2 separate regions of the Homo sapiens genome follow, and region 1 is linked to region 2. The links are contacts of gene promoters, found by promoter capture Hi-C in human tissues and cell types (Jung and others, 2019). All regions are on one chromosome and are shown on one strand. The core of a region is centred on a gene start or on the middle of the fragment in contact, and the rest is flanking DNA. Distances in the headings are between cores, read along the strand shown.

Region 1 (3,600 bases), core at 224-2,723, 210 kb before region 2:
TTTAAAGATTCTCTATATAAAGTGAGATCATGCAGTATTTTTACTTCTGTGTCTGGCTTATTTCACTTGACATATAATGTCTTCCAGGTTCATTCATGTTGTTGCAAATGGCGGATTCTCCTTTTTTAAGACCGAACAATATTACATTGTATATATACTACAATTTTATTATTTACTCATCCATCAGGAACATTTAGGTTGTTTCCATATCTAGACAACCGTAAATAATGCTGCAATGGACATGGGAGTGCAAATATCTCTGTGAAGGGCTGATTTCATTTCCTTTGGATACATACCCAAAAGGGAGATTGCTGAGTCATGCAGTCATTCTATTTTTAATTTTTTGAGGAACCTCCATACTGTTTTCCATAAAACTGCACCAATTTACATTTCTACCAAGAGTGTACAAGGATTCCCCTTTCTCCACATCCTTGCCAACACTTGTTATCTTTCATCTTATTGGTAATAGCCATTATAACAGATGTGAAATGATATCTCATTTCAGTTTTGGTTTGCTTTTCTCTGATGATTAGTGACATTGAGTACCTTTTCATATACTTGTTCGTCATTTTTATGTGCTCTTGGGGGAAATGTCTACTCAGGTCCTTTGCCCAGTTTTAAATTGGGTTATGTGTTTTTTATTGAGTTATGTGAGCTCCTTATATATTTTGGATATTGACTCCTTATCAAACATATGGTTCACAAATATCTTCTCCCAATCCATAGGATGCCTTTTCCTTTTCACTTTGTGGATTGTTTCTTTTGCTGTGTAGAAACTTTTAAATTTGGCGTAGTCTCACTTATTTTTACTTTTGTTGCCTGAGTTTGTTTTTTTTTTTTTTTTTTGAGACAGAGTCTTGCTCAGTTGCCCAGGCTAGAGTGCAGTGGCGCAATCTTGGCTCACTGCAAGCTCTGCCTCCCGGGTTCACACCATTCTCCTGCCTCAGCCTCCCGAGTAGCTGGGACTACAGGCGCCTGCCACCCTGCCCGGGTAATTTTTTTGTATTTTTAGTAAAGATGGGTTTTCACCGTGTTAGCCAGGATGGTCTCCATCTCCTGACCTCGTGATCCACCCGCCTCGGCCTCCCAAAGTCCTGCGATTACAGGCGTGAGCCATCACGCCCAGCCAAATGCTGCCCGATTTTTTGATGTGATATCCAAAAAATCATTGCCAAAGTCAATGTCAAGGAGCTTTTCTCCTATGTTTTCTACTAGGAGTTACATGGCTTCAGGCGTTATGTTTAGGTCTTTAATCTATTTTTAGTTGTGTAAGATAACTATCTTTGTGTATGTGTAAGATAAAGGTCTAGTTTCATTCTTTTGCATGTGGATATCCATTCTCCCAACACCATTTATTGAAGAGACTATTCTTTCCCAATTGTGTCTTCTTGGTGCCCTTGTTAAAAATTATTTGACTGTATATACTTGGGTTTACTTCTGGGCTCTCTATCCTGTTCCACTGTCTGTTCCCATGCCAGTACTATACTGCTTTGATTACTATAGCTTTGTGACATAATTTGAAATCAGGAAGTGTGATGCCTCCAACTTTGTTTTTCCTAAAATTGCTTTGGCTATTCAGGGTCTTTTGTGGTTTCATATGAATTTTAGAATTCTTTTTTCTATTTCTGTGAAGAATGCCATTGAAATTTTGATAGGAATTGCACTGAACCTGTATATTGCTTTGGGTAGTATGGATGATACTAATTCTTCCAATCCATAAACATGGAATACCTTTCCATTTATTTGTGTCTTCTTCAATTTATTTCATTAATGTTTAATCATTTTTATTGTAGAGATATTTCACCTCCTTTGTTAAAGTTATTTCTAGATATTTTATTTAACACAGTGTGCTATATTACACTGATTGATCTGTGTATGTTAAACCATACTTGCATCCCTGGGATGAATCCCACTTGGTCATGATGTATAATATTCTTTATGTATTGTTGAATTCAGTTTGCTAGTATTTTATTGAAGATTTTTGCAGCTGTGTTCATCAGAAATATTAGCCTATAGTTTTCATTTATTTTGTTGTCGTTGTTGTTTAGGTCATTTTTGTCTTTGCTTTTGTTTTAGAGATGGGGTCTCACTATGTTGCCCAGGCAGGACTCCAACTCCCAGGCTCAAGTGATCCTCTCACCTCAGCCTCCAGAGTAGCTGGAACTACTGGTATGTGCCACCACACCTCACTAGTTTTGTTTTCTTGTGGTGTCTTTGTCTGGAAAATTGGTATCAGGTGATGGTGACCTTATAAAATGAGTCTGGGCTGGGTGCAGTGGCTCACACCTGTAATCCCAGTAACTCAGGAGGCTGAGGCAGAAGGACTGTTTGAGACTATGAGTTTGACACCAGACTAGACAACATAGTGAGACCCTGTCTCCAACAAAATATTTAAAAATTAGCCAGGCATGGTTATATGCACTTGTAGTTCCTGATACTTGGGAGGCTGAGGTGGGAGGACTGCTTGAGCCAAGGAGTTCAAGGCTGCAGTGAGCTATAATCATGCCACTGCACTCCAGCTTGGGTAACAGAGCAAGACCCCCATCTCTGAAAATAAAACTAAAAATAAAAATAAATGAGTTTGGAAGTATTTCCTCTAGTTCTATGTTTTTGGAAGATAAGGATTGGTACTATTTGAATGTTTGGTAGAATTCAGCCATGAAGCCATTTGGTTCTGGGCTTTTCTTTGTTGGGAGGATTTTAATTACTACTTTAATAACTATTTGTTATTGGTCTGTTCAGGCTTTCTATTTGTTCCTCATTCAATTCTGGCAGGTATATGTTTCTAAGAATTTATCCATTTCCTCTAGGTTATCTAATTTGTTGGCTTAAAATTGTTCAATCGTCTCTAGTGATCTTTTTTATTTCTGAGGTCTCCACTTTTATTTCTGATTTTTTAATTTCAGTCTTCTCTTTTTTTTTCTTAGTCTAGCTAAGGCTTTGTCACTCTTATATGTTAGAAGAGCCAACTAAGTTTTGTTAATGTATTTTTCTATTCTCTATTTGATTTATTTCTGCTCTGGTCTTTATTAACTCCTTCCTTCTGCTAACTTTGGGTTTACTTTATTCTTTTTTTCCTAGTTCCTTGAGGTGTAACATTAGCTTGTTTATTGGAGATCTTTCTTCTTTCTAAATGCAGGTGTTTATCGCTATAAACTTCCCTCTTAGAACTGCTTTTGCTGTGTCCCTTAGGTTTTGGTATGTTGTGTTTCCATTTTCATTTGTCTCAATATATTTTTTTAATTTCCTTTTGGATTTCTTCTTTGACCTCTTGGTTGTTCAGGAGCATGATGTTTAATTTCCACATGTTTTTGAATTTTCCAGTTTTTTTCCTATTATTGATTCCTAGTTTCATACCACTGTGATCATCAAAGATACTTGATATGATTTCAGTCTCTTAAATTTCAATCTTCTCAAAGTCTTCTTTGTTAAGACTTGTTTTGTGGCCTAATATATGATCTATCCTGGATAATGTTCCACGTGCACTTGAAAAGAATGTGTATTCCGCTGCTGTTGGATGGAATGTTTTGTACATATCTGCTAGATTCATTTGGTCTAAAGTGTAGTTCAAGTCCAATGCTTCCTAATTGATTTTCTGTC
Region 2 (3,323 bases), core at 330-2,829:
CAGGATAAAACATCCCACATTTTTCATTCACCACTCAGTAGCTTCCTTTCGACCACTGAGGAAACTGTCTTCTTCCCAGCCATGAGTATCACTGCTTTTCCATATGCACCCCTGCGTACAGTTAGACCCTGATCACGCCAGTTCTTCCCCACATCCATAGTTTTGTTTATGCCATTTGCCACCTGAGATGTTTACCTTTTATTACTGAAATCTTATGCAAACCGCACTATCAAAATCTTTTCATTCTGCAAGACTTCCTTCTGGTCACCAAAAAAGACAAGTCAGTGAAAGGTGTTGACAGAGGAGGCCAACAAAACAGGCTCAGGCATTGGGCACAGCCCGTTGCTTTCTGTGCTATCCATCTGGGATCCCATGTGCCACGTGGTGGGGGAAGCTAATGAGGGGTCCAGGAGAGCAGGCCAAAGTCCTAGCAGAGCAGGTCTTCCCCACCCCCACCCCTCGTTTTATAAAAGGTGACTATACCTCAAAGTAACTAGAACTGGTTGCAAAGAGTAAAACGAATTCTTATTATTTGGGGTTGTCTGGGATACAGAAAGCTTTTCCTTTGATGCAAGTTTGGGCCAGTTTTTGGTGCTACTCAAGACTTCTCTCTGCCTCCAAGTTTTTTACATCTGAATATATACATATGTACATATGGCTTTGGCATGGCCGAGAAAAAGAATCGATAAGCAAATTCTTTTATGTACTTCCTATAAAAGATACGATACATAAGACAGTTTTTATTTTTTTTTTTTCTCTCTCTCTCTTCCCTAAACAGTCCCGAGGCCCCCTGGGTGCTGAAGGCAGCACCGCAGTGCAACGTGTCCTCTCTCGGTTCCATTTCTGGAGGAGCTGATGCAATTCCAAGGCGCGGGGCTGGGCCAGAGCTCGGTTCTTGTGCTACAGTAGAATAGTGTTCCAGCGTGGCTGCCTCTGCAGCGCCTGGCAATTCTAGAAATTTTGCCATCTGCAGCTCAGCTCAGGAATACTGAGCTTGCAGCCATCAGCTTTGAGTGCCATTATCTGAACCGGCCCTGCGTGCCAGTCTCGAGCGCTTACACCTCCCAGGCCGCCAACGAGGACCCTATTGACTTGATACTCCCCTCCTCCAGGAGACAGTCTCGGTTCCATATGGCTCCAGCTCTTGACCAGGGATCTCATGATTGAAGTGAAAAAGGAAAGGAAGCAGACTCTGTCCTCCTTACCAAGTGACTGTTCCCACCTTGCCATCCCAGCCAGACTTGACACGTCCAAAAACTGCATCCTCAGCCCCCTCCCGGCAGAAGACAATGGCCTGCGTGCCAGTTCCCATCCGGGACCCTCCCCAAGCCCTCCTCTGAGGTCTCTCTGTTTTTGTTTGTTTGTTTGTTTGTTTTAAACGCTGTCTTGGTGTTTAGCAAAGTCTAAGCATCGCTGCTCATCCCCAGCCCCACCGCCCCGGCCCTCCCGCCCCGGAGTCTGGAAACCAGGACAGGGTGACAGCCGGGACGCTCGCCCGGGCCGGACTCACCCGGCCAGTGGAGAAGCGCCGGAGCGCCTGGCTGCCCCGCCGCAGCATGCTGGAGAGGAGCGCTAGCACTGGCGACGCGGCAGCGCGGGAGGCAGGCGGGCGGCGCAGCCTGGGCGCGGCCTGGGCGCGGCCTGCAGTCTGGATGCCCCGGACTGCCTGGCTCGCGGCTCGCCGCTCTCGGCCTCTGCTAGTCCGCACCCCTCCCAAAGCCCACAGCCCGCGGCCCGCCCCACCCTACCAGCTGCAAGGCCCCGCCCCCTAGCTGTCAAGACCCCGCCCCCAGCTGGAAGGCCCCGCCCCGCCAGCTGGCTGCGTTCGGACAGCCAACCTGGTGCGACCCGGCGGAGCGCGTGGGCTTCCTGGAGCCTGTGGGCCCTGACCCTGGTGCCAAGAGCGCACCCAGTCCCAGGGACCGCGCCTCTCCGCTGCCTGGACTTTCCGCCAATTCCAGCCAAGGTCCAGGTGCTTTCTAACTGTGGGACCCTCTACCAGTTACTCAGCCCCGCAGCAGTGTATACGGATCTACCTTATTAGTGGTCAATCTGACATCCCAAGTGCTGTCCATAGCACAGCCCGTAAAAGGCACGCCTGTAGACAGATAGGTAGTGGGGGCGCCTTCGCTGTGGAGGGATCCTGATGCCTACCTCGTAGGACGGTAGGCCGGGCGCGGTGGCTCCCGCCTGTAATCCCAGCACTTTGGGAGGCCGAGGAGGGAAGATGGCCTGAGCTCAGGAGTTCGAGACCAGCCTGGCCACCATGGTGAAACCCCGTCTCTACTAAAAATAAAAAATAATAAAATAATAAAATAATTAGCCGGGCGTGATGTCGCATGCCTGCAGTCCCAGCTACTCGGGAGGCTGAAGCACGAGGATCACTTGAGCCGGGGAGGCGGAGGTTGCAGTGGAGCTGAGATCATGCCACTGCACTTCAGCCTGGACAACAGAGCGAGACTCTGTCTTAAAAATAAATAAATAAATTGGTGCAAAAGTAATTGTGGTTTTTGCCACTGAAAATAATGGCAAACCCGCAATTACTTTTGCATCAACCTAATAGATACGTGCCCTTCTCCCTCACCTCTCTGGAAAAAACGCTCAGACCTGCTTTAGCTGGACGTTTATCTCAAGCCAGACTTCTTAGCCCAGCATTCAGGGCCGTCTGCAATTTGCCATTTTCTCTTATTTCTCACTGCTCTTTTGCATATGTAATTCTGCTTGACTGCAGTTCTTGCCTATTCCTTCTTGGACAATGTTTCCCAGAAAAGCTTGTCATCTGTCACTTGTAATTATCTTGGCACGACCGTTTCTTTTCTGAAAGGTACCGCTTACATGCTGCCTCCTGGAGGCGCTTTTTTCTGATTCTTTTCTCTCTTAGTCTCCTTATTCCCCATAAATAATTGTTCACTCCTCTTAACAGGAAATAATCTTTGTCTATGCATCTGTTATGGCTGTCTCAATCTGCTACTGGTATTTGTATACCTATTAACGTCTCTGTTGGAAGCTCCTTGCAAGCTAAGTCCATGTCTGATTAATCAGGATTTACAGTATCTAGCACTAACCAGAGCTTTAAAAAAATAATAATAAAATAAAAAATAACTTGTTAAAAAAAAACTTGTTGAAACGGATGAATGTGTTTAAGAGAGTAAGGAGACAAAAAAGAACCATCATTAAAACTTGGAGAATTGCGGTTGGGCGCGGTGGCTCACGCCTGTAATCCCAGCACTTTGGGAGGCCGAGGTGGGCGGATCACGAGGTCAGGAGATCGAGACCATCCTAGCTAACACGGTGAAACCCTGTCTCTACTAAAAATACAAAAA

What was found. The method cuts DNA at HindIII sites, captures the fragments that hold promoters and counts their contacts. A contact is called where the count stands out against the background at its distance.
Region 1: a contact is called between a fragment that was not itself captured here and the fragment with the promoter of ALDH1L2 in region 2, in 5 of the 25 tissues and cell types used here (heart left ventricle, lymphoblastoid cells, mesenchymal stem cells and 2 more).

Annotation. Positions count from the first base shown.
Region 1 is chr12:104,873,246-104,876,845 of GRCh38, forward strand. All of the region lies in intron 6 of SLC41A2 (solute carrier family 41 member 2), which reads right to left. Among named protein-coding and RNA genes, the nearest start is that of SLC41A2, 83 kb to the right of the region's middle. The HindIII fragment of the contact is 5,392 bases long and covers 1-3,600 here.
Region 2 is chr12:105,082,879-105,086,201 of GRCh38, forward strand. It overlaps ALDH1L2 (aldehyde dehydrogenase 1 family member L2), which reads right to left and starts at 1,580. Exons shown (of 23, transcript NM_001034173.4): 1 at 1,511-1,580. The coding sequence starts at 1,558. RefSeq lists enhancers at 423-1,223, 718-957 and a silencer at 1,458-1,887. The HindIII fragment of the contact is 4,053 bases long and covers 1-3,323 here.